Linked DNA regions of Homo sapiens: all the other regions are linked to region 3. Evidence: promoter capture Hi-C in 16 types of primary human blood cells and fetal thymus (Javierre and others, 2016). All regions are on one chromosome and are shown on one strand. Each heading gives the region's core, a stretch centred on a gene start or on the middle of the fragment in contact. The rest is flanking DNA. Distances are from core to core; before and after follow the strand shown.

Evidence for each region. Contacts are between HindIII fragments. The CHiCAGO score rates a contact against its expected background, and 5 or more counts as called.
Region 1: the fragment with the promoter of FGFR1OP2 here is called in contact with the fragment with the promoter of BHLHE41 in region 3 in 5 of 17 cell types (fetal thymus, monocytes, total CD4 T cells and 2 more); the score reaches 7.2 in fetal thymus.
Region 2: a contact is called between the fragment with the promoter of DNAI7 here and the fragment with the promoter of BHLHE41 in region 3, in 4 of 17 cell types (total CD8 T cells, naive CD4 T cells, fetal thymus and 1 more). The highest score is 6.4, in total CD8 T cells.

What each region holds. Positions count from the first base shown.
Region 1 is chr12:26,936,941-26,940,804 of GRCh38, forward strand. FGFR1OP2 (FGFR1 oncogene partner 2) reads left to right here and starts at 1,530. Exons shown (of 7, transcript NM_015633.3): 1 at 1,530-1,770. It overlaps INTS13 (integrator complex subunit 13), which reads right to left and starts at 1,041. Exons shown (of 17, transcript NM_018164.3): 1 at 856-1,041. RefSeq lists enhancers at 1,346-1,855, 1,584-1,633, 1,856-2,364 and a silencer at 1,894-1,963. The HindIII fragment of the contact is 20,390 bases long and covers 1-3,864 here.
Region 2 is chr12:25,193,424-25,197,894 of GRCh38, forward strand. DNAI7 (dynein axonemal intermediate chain 7) reads right to left here and starts at 1,737. Exons shown (of 16, transcript NM_018272.5): 1 at 1,653-1,737. The coding sequence starts at 1,655. ETFRF1 (electron transfer flavoprotein regulatory factor 1) reads left to right here and starts at 1,814. Exons shown (of 3, transcript NM_001001660.3): 1 at 1,814-1,914. RefSeq lists an enhancer at 2,055-2,174. The HindIII fragment of the contact is 2,518 bases long and covers 1,381-3,898 here.
Region 3 is chr12:26,122,447-26,126,526 of GRCh38, forward strand. BHLHE41 (basic helix-loop-helix family member e41) reads right to left here and starts at 2,591. Exons shown (of 5, transcript NM_030762.3): 1 at 2,272-2,591; 2 at 2,073-2,136; 3 at 1,626-1,733; 4 at 1,184-1,295; 5 at 1-722. The coding sequence starts at 2,333. It also overlaps a transcript of SSPN not described here. RefSeq lists a silencer at 4,003-4,080. The HindIII fragment of the contact is 3,679 bases long and covers 1,236-4,080 here.

The DNA of each region.
Region 1 (3,864 bases), core at 280-2,779, 810 kb after region 3:
AAATCTGTCCGACAAAGGACAGTTTAATGAGGTCATGACCAGAAAGCAAGGGTATCAATACACCATATTAGGCTGTCACTCTACCAGGCCCAGACAAAAATACCAGTGCATGCATTTTTGGTTTTGCTTTTAAAATGAACTTAAAATTGTCAGAGGGAAACATTTTGACATTTAATTGTATTTGATTCCCTTACATATACGAAACATAAGTGACAAAGACTCTTGAAATACAACTTTATGATCCTTGCTAATTGACATTAGTCACATATAAACCCCAAGCCAGCATTTTTGCACTTCCCTCCAAGAAAAACGTTTGAAGGGGGACTGGCGGGTAGGGGTGCGGAATTAACAGGAAAGAGGAGTGACAGCAAAAGAAAAGGCCAAAACAAAGATAAACATCTCCTAAGATAACCGCACATCAGGTCTTCGCCTTAGGATAAGGACCCCAACTTCACACTCTCCCCTTAGCTTTTGAAACATCACAGTAATTTACCAGGTAGAGCAGAAAAACTTAGTTGTTACCATCACACTGGTGTGTAGAAGGAAATTTAAAACTTTTAAAACTTTTTCTTATTAAAACAGAGCATACGGTACTCCCCTGCTTCGCTAACAAAATCTTATACTGAATAGACAATCCACATTCGAAAAGCACATGGCAAGCAAAGCCAAAGTGTTAAATCAAAACGAACTGATTTCTTACGATCCAGCTATTTTCACCTCTTGCTTTCAAGACGCATCTCCCCTTCATGCAAAACTCTCTTTGAGAAACCTTCTAGACCCACTTTGCTGGAGGGTGGGGGGTGGAAAATACAAGGTGAGTGGATAGGGAAGACCTCAGGATCGAGGTTCGCTTACTTTCGTGCCTGGTCCTGCAGTGAAAACGAACAGAGGCTATGGACCACAGCCTCTCTGGAAAAGGCTGCTGGCTGGGCGGGGAGAGTCAGCGCACAGTCGGGAGTGTCTGGTGCCACAGACAGGGGACTATGCTTTCCCCGATCATCTCCTAGCACACCGGTCCTTCCCAGGCTTCCTAAGAGCAGGAGCGCGCGTGCGCGTGCACACACACACACGCACTCGGGCTCGCGCGTGCGCACAGCGCTCTCCGATAGCCCGGCCAAGCCTCCCTTCCCCCTCGTAGGGCCAGGCGTCCCAGTCGCCGAACAGGAAGAGGGCGGGGCCAAGGAGGAAAAAAAAAGCCTCCACCCCTCGAGATTTTCCACCCGCTAATTTTCCCAGTCACCCATTGGGAAGCAGGATCTGGGCGACCTGAAAGCCTCCCCAACAGCGAAGTACCAACCACGGCCCCCTAAGCGTACGACCCACCCACCCGGTCTCCCCTTCTCTGTCTCTCCACCCAGGCCGGTTTCCCCTGGAAAAACTCGCGAGACTTTGCGAGAGGCCGAGCGAAAGCCTGGGAAGGGAGGAATAGGGAGGGACATAGAAGGGCCCCGCCCTGCCTTCTGGGGCAAAGCGGAGAGTGGTCGGTTCTGCCCCACAGTAACGCGAGGAAAGAAATCTCGCGAGGCTGGAGTTCTCCGGGAGCGCCGGTCGGAGGCGGTCGGCGGAGGTGTCTACCCCGCCGGTGATGGCGTTGAACGCCACTGGCTTCCCGGCCTTCCGTCCGCTGCCTCCGTCCGATTCTGCGTCTGCTTGCTGAGGAGGCGGATTAGGGGGGCGCGGAGTCTCTTCCCTTGAGTGCATAGGTCCCGGTTGGTAGAGGGTTTGAGTCCGCATCGCCACAGCTGAAGGCTGCGAGGGACTAAGAGCAGAGTAAGTGGACTAAATCCAGGGACGGGAGCAGGGGTGGGCGAGTCGGAGGCGTCCTTTGCCGGGGCAGTCCTTCGCCGGGGCCGGTGCCTTGCGCCTCTTGAACCACCGGCGCCCGGCCCTGTCCGCTTCCCGCCGCGGGCTCCCTGCTCCTGGGAGCCGGACTTCCTCTCCGCGCCCCCCGACTCCGAGCTCCTCTTAATGGAGATGCGGTGCGGAAAGTTCAATGAAAAGCCTTGGCTCTAACCCTGTGGACACACCTTCCGTATCTGCTTTCATCCTGCCTTACCCACCTGCGAGTTCACCACCGGACGGGGGACCCTTTCAGTCACCTGTTTGCAGCGTTTAATGAAGATAACTTGTTTCTTGAAACTGCTCTCCAAGGGGTATTACTCTTTTCTGGTTCTCTTCCTGCCTTTCTTCTCTATCCCATCTCTGATAATGGTTCCAGTATCTGTCCTGCTATCCGAACTAGAAAACCAGGAATCATCATTGGTTCTTCATTTCCACTTAACACTGCACTGTATTATTTTTTTTTTCGCCAGAATTAGTGCGGTTGCCCCCTCTGCCCCCCGCCCTCCACTGGTTTCCCTACTATAATCCTTCCATAGAGTTATTCTGAAATACATATTTATCTCTGTCCTTTCCTTAAACTTTTTAGTAACCGTATTGCTGACAGCATCAAATCCTAATTGTTAAGCACATCATCATTCAGGATCTTTTACAGTCTGCCCCAATCCATTTTACCTTTTAGTCCTGCTTTAATATCCTACCATACAAGACTATACTGGCTATTTCCCCAAACATGCCATGCGCTTTGACAGCTCTGTACTTTTGTACGTGCGGATGTCTAGGATGTTTACTGTTCCTCTATTTTACCACCTGTCAAAACCCAATTCATAAATCATTGTCTTCTCAGACTCCCCCAGGTGACATTGATACCGCTGTGCTCCCAACGCATTTGAAACTTTTCTTCTGCAGTATTTATTAGGTTGTATTATTTGTTTCTGTCTCTCCTGCCAATTTGAACCTGGGTCTGTCTGGAATCATGTCTTACTCATCTCTGAGAAAAAGTCCAGTACTTGGCACATAGCAAGCATTATTTATATATACATATGTATGTTTATTGAAATGGAATAGTTCTAAGGAATTCACCGTAAGAGTTCTTCATCCTTTAAAATCATAGAATTTTGGGCCAGAAGGAACTCTGTACATTAGCTTAAAGGTCCCGACCTATTTTGATTATGAGAAACCCTGTACTTCTAATACACATGCAATTGGACTTTTAGTAATTGTTGGTTGAAATTATGTATAATGACAGAAAACTACTATGCTTTTAAATGATTTTGTATTTTATTTTTACAGTATCTATTTATATTTGAGAAATGGAGCAGAAATGTTTTAGACTACAGACAGTGCTTGGAGTATGTGCATTCAGGCAACTCTTCTACTGACTCCTTAGCCTGTAGGTTAGAAATAACTGGTTTAGATTAGGTTAGTTCCTTCTTGAACTGTCACAACTCTTTGAACATATGTATGTGAAACTTATATTCAGCCACAATTCTAAGGGAACGTGTAATTTTAAAAAAATCCTCCAGTGTCATTACTTCCAAAATCTTTCTTCCAAGTTTAAAAATTAATTTTCTTCAGAAAGTGTCTTTATACAGTTCCAAACATGTATTCATTCCACTATTTTCAAGGACAGTGAAAATTTTCTTTGCTTTCACATACAGCGATGTGCCTTTATAAATGCTTATTTTTATATGTAATTTATATGCGTTCTTTCTTGCATTCATAAGATTATAAGTTTATATGAAAACCATAACTATACCTTTTGGTTTTTTTATTTCCATATGGGTCAGTTCATATTATGTACTAATTAATATTAGAGACACATACCTGAACATGAAAAAATTTAAACTAGATTGTTGACATTTAAAGACAGATCTGTGGTGTATCAGTAGCCACAATATTTCTGTGTAGATGTAGTGGTAGGAGTAGTGGATTTGCAGATAAGGGAAACAGAAGTGTCCAATCAGTAAACATTCATTGATCTTACAATTAATGTGATGCCTAATTAAAATGGTTGCTAGGCTT
Region 2 (4,471 bases), core at 487-2,986, 930 kb before region 3:
CCCTAAGGCCCTCAGAGGTATCACAGACCTGCTGACACTTTGATCTTGGACTTCTAGTCTCCAGAACTACGAGACAATAAATTTCTTTTCTTTAACCACTCAGTTTGTGGCAATTCCTTACTTGGCAGACTTAGGAAACTAATACAGTAGATTTGGAGTTGAGTGGGTTCCTGGAATCTGCATTTTTAACAAGTACTCCGGGTGCATTAGAAATAAATGTTCCATGGGCCACACTTTGAGAAACATTGGGAGAAGGATCTAAGAAGAAGAAGAAACTCAGGTAACAAATTGGAAGGTAACAAGTAAGTGCTTACTGTTCCCCCAATTTATTAGCAATTATAAATTGACTTAAGGTCCATTTGCATTCCGCCAGGAATGCTCTCCACTCCCTATTTCTTTTTTTCTCTTTTTTTTTTGAGACGGAGTCTCGCTCTGTCACCCAGGCTGGAGTGCAGTGGCACAATCTCGGCTCACTGCAACCTCCGCCTCCCAGGTTCAAGCGATTCTCTTGCTTCAGCCCCCTGAGTAGCTGGAATTACAGGTGCGCGCCAACACGCCCGGCTAATTTTTGTATTTTTAGTAGAGACTGGGTTTCACCATGTTGACCAGGCTGGTCTCGAACTCCTGACATCGTGATCTGCCCGCCTCGGCCTCCCAAAGTGCTGGGATTACAGGGGTGAGCCACCGCGCCAGGCCTCCACTCCCTATTTCTTCCCACCATATGTGGAAAACTCGTATTTATACTTTAAAACAGGTTGAAAAGCACCACTCTCCTTCCCTTGTTTCCCCTCACTGAAATTTCATCATTTCCAACTGTGTGTTACCCCATTTTAGATGCTTCAATTGTTACAGTTGTAAAGCTGTATTGTAATTAATTTGTTTAATCTGTATCCTATAAGCAGAGTTGTCGTCATGTTCTTCTTGGTATTCTTGGCTTCTAGCCCAGTGCCAAGTACAAAGAATGCACTCCACATTTTTCCCTTAATTAATGAATTAAATAAGTAATTACATTCTCCACTTCCTCTGGTTTTAATTATAGAAAATGTCTTGATGGAAACCACATTTAAGAAAATCAGAGATACTCTCATAGCTACATGTTGGCCTGTCTCCTTGCTGAAAACATGGCAGTTGAGGAGTGCAGAAAAACAAAATGAGAAGCCTTATCATATTTAACTAATGCAGGATGAGAACCTTGAATCACAAAACAATTCATATTCCCACAAAAGACGACATAAAATATTTTTTCAAAGCAGAGTAAATTGCATTAGCTTTTAATTAACTGCTGGAGAAGTACTAAAACATTTCCGCCAAGTTGCAATAAGAAAATTTAGTGGGAACGTCTATCACTACTGAAAGTTACTAGGTTGGGACCAATTTTCAAGCTTAGCAACATTCGAGATCAGGATACCGTGTGACAGCTTTGACCATCTCCCGTTTGCAGAAACTGGTTTGGGACTCCTACCTGTCCGCCTGGTCCAGGTAAGGAAAGCCATTGCTGAGAAGAGGGCCGACCCACCCCAAGGTATGAGTTATTTCCCAAACCGACCCGCTTCGCTGTAAAATATGACTGGCTCTTGATTACATTATTTAACACTGGTGAAGCAGAATCAGTGGTCGCCCCTCCACCTGTCTGCCTCATTTGCCTTGCTCACCATTAAGAGTCAAGCTCCACTGCAGTAGTCCGCAGAGTCGGAGCAGAAATTGTGTGGACAAACGCTCCCGGGTTGCCCGGACGACAGGCCCCGCCCACTTGAGCTCCAGGAAAAGAGCGCAGCCGCGCGGAGGCTCTTCCGGCCGGCGCCCCGCCCCCTTTACTGACAGGTTGCCCACCTCCCCCAACGCCACCCCGCTTCGCAGTAGACGGACAGAGGAGTCGTAGCGGTCGAGGCTTTTGCGGCTCCGGCGTGCCGGAAAGTGCGTGAGTGCCGCCGCCGGGGAGTTTTGTTCCATTTCCCGGATCCTGGGGTCTGGAGGCGAAATATGCTCTGGGCGAGGACCACCGGGTGTGGGAAGAGGGTTCTGAGCGTCTCCTGACGTTGACGGTTTATTTCCTAGAGTGTGTTGGGTCTTTCTGTGAGGGTTTCGAGAAGGAAACAGGCATGCGACTGGTTCATGCAGCGGACACCCGGTGGGAGGCCTGGGCCTCTGCGGTTTAATCCAGCAGGGGGATGGGGCTCATTCCGCAATTTAAAGAGAGAAATAAGTTGGCTCCAGAGGGTTGGTTATTTTAAGATTAATGACCTTCGGATTCTTCTTTCTGCTCTATTGTTTACTTTCTGTGCAGCGTACGCGTCCTTTTTCCTAAGAGCGCCCTAAACAAGAATTGAAAATGAAGCAATTCCTGGCTAAAATATTCCTTAACATGAAGATCGCTGAGGCCCCAAAGACTCATTAGTTTCCCGAGGTCACAGACTAATTTTACTAACCACACAACCTTTAGAATTTCAGTCTCCTCCCACATGAAGAAACGCCGGCACCTTACACCGACAGGAAAACTACAATTAAGTGAGGCTGTTCTCCTCAAGCCCGACTGAGTTCTCTGTAATTGTAGGGCATACCTACACCCTGTTTTAGCATTATGAGACCTGAAATACTTTTAAATTACTGGCACCATTTCTCATCTCTGAATTATAAGTTTATAATGCTCTATCCCTTCCAGTGTTATTGACTACATGCATTATTCATAGATAAGTAGTAGGACTAAGCTAGTCTTTGTGGGTTAAAGTGTTATTATCCCTATTGTAACCTGTAACTATTATAGGTTGTGTAATAGTTATTAGCATTTTACATCCATATCCTGGTAGCAAGATAAAAACATTTTAATAGCGACTTCGTACAGAGTTCTTACTCAGTTTACCATAGCTGTTTGATATGAAAGTTAAGGCTTCCTTTTAAATTAGTTTCAGTAAAACTAATGTTTAATGATAAAACACCTCAGTCAACTCAAGTTAGGATTCATCGGGGTAAGGAGATAGTTCAGTAATCCCAAGTTACCTTAAAATAGTGGGCTTTTAGAGGAAAGGCTTTACTGAAGCTCTCACTGTATCTACCCCATGGGGAACAATGATTAACAACTTTGGCCACCACATAACCCCCAGTAAAATGACAATTTTCCATTAGCCTGGAACTGGAACTGGTTAAGTCCTAACTCCTTAGCCTAGAATGACAGGGGGAAAAAACTATCAATGGGGACTGCAACCGCTGTCTCATCCAGCGCACACATCCAAGTTTTCAGAATAATAGGGGGCTTCTCTTAGTCCTTAACTCTTGGCTCTTTACTTAAAACAGTAACCTCCATGACTTCATGCAGAGTTCAGGAGCAGCCTCAGGGCCCTGCTGAACTCAAAATTGTTTATTCACTACATTGTGAACCCAAGGAGACCTATTTCTCTTAGTGGCTAAAGTAAACCTAAATGCTTCAAGGTCAACTGCATAAAGATAAACTGCATTGCCTGGTGTGGTGGCTCACGCCTGTAATCCCAGCATTTTGAGAGGCCAAAGTGGGTGGATCACGAGGTCTGGAGATGGAGACCATCCTGGATAACACAGTGAAACCCCGTCTCTACTAAAATAATACAAAAAATTAGCCGGGCGTGGTGATCAGCACCTGTAATCCCAGCTGCTCTGGAGGCTGAGACGGGAATCGCTTGAACCCGGGAGAGGGAGGTTGCAGTGAGCCAAGATCGCACCACTACACTCCAGCCGGGTCAACAGAGCAAGACTCCGTCTCAAAAAAAAAAAAAGATAAACTGCATTAATTCATATAAGTTAACATATCAAAGAAGAACAAATTTGCCATAGCCACACTAGTTACATTTTTGCTGGGCAAGTGTTTTATGATACATAATTTGTAAAAAGACCAACAACTAAAAAGGACAACTTAAGCCAGGTCCCTGAAAGCTTTCACAAGTTACAAATTGTGAATTAAATGAAGCTGTGCTGTTAGGCATTAAACAGGTTATAGTTTGCAATTCGAAATTACATCTATGTATATTTAATTTTAAATTATGTGAAAAGAACATGGTTCCGAAGAGGTGTTTTTTGTTTGTTTTGTTTTGAGACAGGGTCTCAAAATGAATTTTGCCCAGGTTGGAGTGGTGGAACAATCACGGCTCACTACAGCCTCAACCTCCTGGGCTCAAGCGATCCTCCCACCTCAGCCTCTCAAATAGCTGAGACTACAGGCACACGCCACCATGCCTGGCTAATATTTTTTTACTTTTAGTAGAGACAAGGTCTCACTCACTATGTTGCCCAGGCTGGTCTCAAACTCCTGAGCTCAAGCCATCCTCCAGCCCTGGCCTCCCAAAGTGCTGAGATTACAGGTACAAGCCACCATGCCCAGCCTAAGAATCATTCTTAGTAAGATTATTTCACGCTGCTAATGGCTCTCTGCCAAAAGAAAAAAAAGGAAGTTTAAAGAATGAAGTAGTTAATATAGTGGGTTAAATACCCTCATCTAATTTTACTC
Region 3 (4,080 bases), core at 1,341-3,840:
AGGCGAGAGGAAGCAGAAGGGCAGGCAGAAGGGGGCCGCGGCGGCCGCGGGCTGCGGGAAGGGCGCGCCTCCGCCTCCGCCGAACGCCACCAGCGAGCTGAGCAGGGCGGCGTCGGGTCTCAGCAGCGCGGCCGCGGCGGCAGGGTCGGGCCCCAGAAGCGCGGCTGCCGCCGCCGCCGCGCCGCCCCCCGGGCCGCCGCCGCTGCCGCCGCCGCGGGAATCCAGCTTCATCCTCTTGGGCGCCGGCGAGTCCTCCCCGGGAGGCTCCTGCTTGATGGTGACGCGGCTCGCCCCCGCGCCTTTGCCTTTCTCGCGGTCCGGCCGGGCCTCGGCTTCGCCGCCGTAGCCGCTGTCGGTGTCCGTGTCGTTCTCGGCGGCGAGCTCGGCGCTGGGCTGAGTCCGCTGGATGACGGGCACGCAGTAGGCGAGGGGCTCCAGCTTCTGCCCCGCGCGCTCCAGGCAGGGGGCGGCCGCGGACCCGGCGGCCGAGGGAGCGCCGGTGCCTTTGCTCAGAGGGACCTGTTGAGTCAACAGCTGCGGGGTGGGCAAGAACTGGGTGGCCACGGCGTGCAAGTGGTTGATCAGCTGGACACACCGCGGCTCCCTGGGTGTCCAGCTCTCAAACCGGGAGAGGTATTGCAAGACTTCTTTGGCGCATGTTTGAAATCCCGAGTGGAACGCATCCAAGTCGGACTGAATGGGCGATTTCAGAGATCGCTCCCCTAGGATGAGGAAGGGATGGGGGTGGGGGACGGAGGAGTGGAGGCAAGAAGAAACATACCCACGTTAAAACATCTGCTTATCACGTGGGCCCTGCATCGACTAAAGTGATCTCGGTTTTTCCCCAGTATTCAAGTGATATAATCCACCAGTTGACGAGAGAAGCGGGGTGGCGGAGGTGCGGAGCGGGGAGAGGGCGCTCTCCTCCCAGCTGAAAACCAAAGTGGAGCGGGTGCAACCGCCACTTTAAATCCTGATTCCTCCGAGTTCTGCTGAAAGCCTCTAGGATGCTTCGGGAAATGGGCTCGTTCCAATGAAGGGAAAGTATAAGCAATTTAACAAATGAGAGGGAACCCATGAGCCCACGGAAAGAGATGGGGTGCGGGTGAGGGAGTCCTGACACTGCTCCCCTGTGGGCTGCCCCGCTTCATCAGGGTAGGCTGGCCTCCCTGAACTGACTTACCATTCTGTAAAGCAATTATCTTCTGATGCTGTTGCTCGGTTAAGGCGGTTAAAGCTTTTAAGTGTTTCAAAGTTAATTCCAAGACTACAGCTTTCTCCAGATGTCCCAGAGTCTGCAGTGGTGCAAAAAAGAAACGGGCACTTGGTTACTTAAAAACACACATTTGGCTTAATTGGCTGTCCATTCAGCACAGCAATTTAAGCAAACACTTTGAAAGAAGTACTGTTCTTTTACTTCTTGAGCTTTCCACAAGACAGGTTATAAATGATTTCTTGCCTTCAGCTGGGAGCACCTACTCCAGTTTGCGGGAAACTCTGTACGGTATAGCACAAGTTTTAAGTCAGGAACTTATATTTACATTTATTCTTATATTTTCTGGGAGTCGCACCAGACTATTAACACGCCCTTGGAGAGCAGCAAAGAATGAAAATGTGCATCTTACTGTCAATTTCAGATGTTCAGGCAGTAAATCTTTCAGCTGAGCAATGCATTCATTAATTCGGTCTCTTCTTTTCTTTTCTATTAATCTGTGCGGTAATTTGTAGGTATCCTTAATATATGAGAGTCATGGAAAAGAGAAAACAGTAAGCGAAACATTCACTTATTGGATATTACCCTCGTCTGCCCCCCCCGCCCCCCCACCATAAAACATACTATGTGATAAACTACACCCAAGAAACCTCTTTCCTCTGGACTGTTCTGCAATGCAATTTAAATTCAGGTATGATGTTTAATATCCCCCTGAGAGTACCCAGCAAGCCACTTAAAATTCACAGTTGGGGAAGCTCAGGGGCTGGAATATATTTGCGGGCAGAGCTTCACTGTGAAATCAATGGCTCTAATTAACTACCCATGCAGGTTATGAGGAATATCGGGAACTTACACTTACCTTGGTGTCGTCTCGTTTCATGCTCCTTTTGGGTTTACACATATACAAAGAGGAATAGTCCAGTCTGCAAAACAGAAATCAGCATCAGGCACCCATTCGGGGAGGGGCTCTGCCCTCGCCAGCTCCATACCACTTTCTGGAGAAGAAAAAAATCAAACCAAAGCCTAGACAGATATTCGCAAGGGTGCGTGCACCTTACCCTATAAAATCTCTATGTTCCAGTAACTGTCTCTCTTGCAAATGAGGAATTCCTTCGTCCATGTTCAACTGCTGTTCGTTTCCTCTGTTTCGATTTTTGGGGCTCTGTACAATAATCTGTGGGACGGTAGGCTTGGGAGACCTTGGGGGGATCTGTGCGTCTCCAGTCTCTCTCTCGCTCTCCCTCTTCAGTGCAGTGTTGAAAGTGTGAAGCAGTTGGTCCCCCCCCTCCACCGCGCTCGCACACACACACGCACACACACGCACACTCGCGCCGGCCCCACTGCGCTGGTAGTTTGCTCTCACTCCAGGCAGTGTTTGGCCACAGGGCACGCGCGTCGCCGGCCAGACCAGCACCCAGCTCACGTGCGGAACGTACCATCCGCGGTCCAGCCCGGAGGGGGGCGGGGGAGGAGGGGCCGGGCCGGGCGGGGGCGTCGGGAGAAGGCGGCGAGAGAAGGCGAACGGCAGGAGGGGGCGGGGACACCTGATCAGGGCCACCGGAAAGGAAAAACAACTTCGGCCAAGCTATTCATCTTCCCAAAGGCGATGCAGTCGGCAGGAGGAGGGGGGAGTGGGGGTGCAGGGGTGCGGGGCAGCCTGAGCTTCCTTGGCTCCAAAATGCGACTCCCTGGGTTCGTCCGTTGTTACGGTGCAGGAATGTGAACGTGGCTTTTTGCTTTTCCACCGATTGTGCTGTTGGTTTGAACCATAGAAAGGAAGTGAAAAGAGAATTCGCGGTGGGTAAACTTGAGTCCCAAAGGAAATTTTGGAGACTTGTTTGCTCACTGATCAGTGGCCTGGAGGGACTCCTTGGCGCTGGGTGGAGAGGTTGCCTCGAGAAGAAGCAACTTGCAATCCGCTCCTTGAAGGATTTAAGATACATGAAAACGTTGTCACTGGGTCCGAATGTCGCAATCCAAGTGTCTTTCGGTGACACGGCGTCCCTGGGCCAACTAAACTTCCCCGCAGCAGCCGGAATTGCGGTGCCACTAATCACAGCAGCAGATGACGACGTTTGGGGCCGCGTGTGCTCCTGGAGGAACGCGGCGGGGAGCGAGCCGGGGTTGAGTGGGGGCTGGGAAGGGAGAAGGGGGTGGCACGAGAGGGGGTGGCACGAGAGGGGCTACCACAGAAAAGCTATGCAGCATTTATCACCCGCCCGCTCAACTCTGCCGCGTTCTGAGCCTCCGGTGACGCTACGTGCTTTCCCCATCCCCCCGCCCCCCCGCGCGATAAGAGACGCCCGGAGTGTGCAGAGCCCACGTTTACTACCGCTGGCACCTCCAAAGCCTCCCTCCTTAATCCGGTCTCAAACGGGTACCAGCACAGGGCCAGCAACGTGATCCGACCTGCCGCTGCTGCCACATCACTGCTCGGGGAACCCGTGCGCGCGCGCGCTCGCCCTGCAGCCGCGGCGCTCGGCGCCGGGAATCACAGGCCAGCAAGAGCCGGGTTACCTTTCCCCAGAGCCACCCTGGGAGCATGACTCACTGCTAGTGAGAGTTACCGGGAGGTGCCCGGGGATGCGCACTGCCCACGCCGCCCTGCCAGCCCAGGGGAAGGCATGTCCTGAGGGACTCCCAGGGGTGGGATGGAGGCTATATATATATTTCTCTAGATATACATAAAGACATAGAGAAAAAAACCAAGGTTTTTCCTGCACAGAGAGGGATATTTACATTCTCCCCGGGGTGATCTCTGAAACGTTGATTATTGCCGGTGATAAGTGAACCGAGGGGAGAAGAACGCCAAAGGTACATGCACCAGGGCGCAGCAGGGACTGGGGCGCCCGCTACGTGTCCCCCGG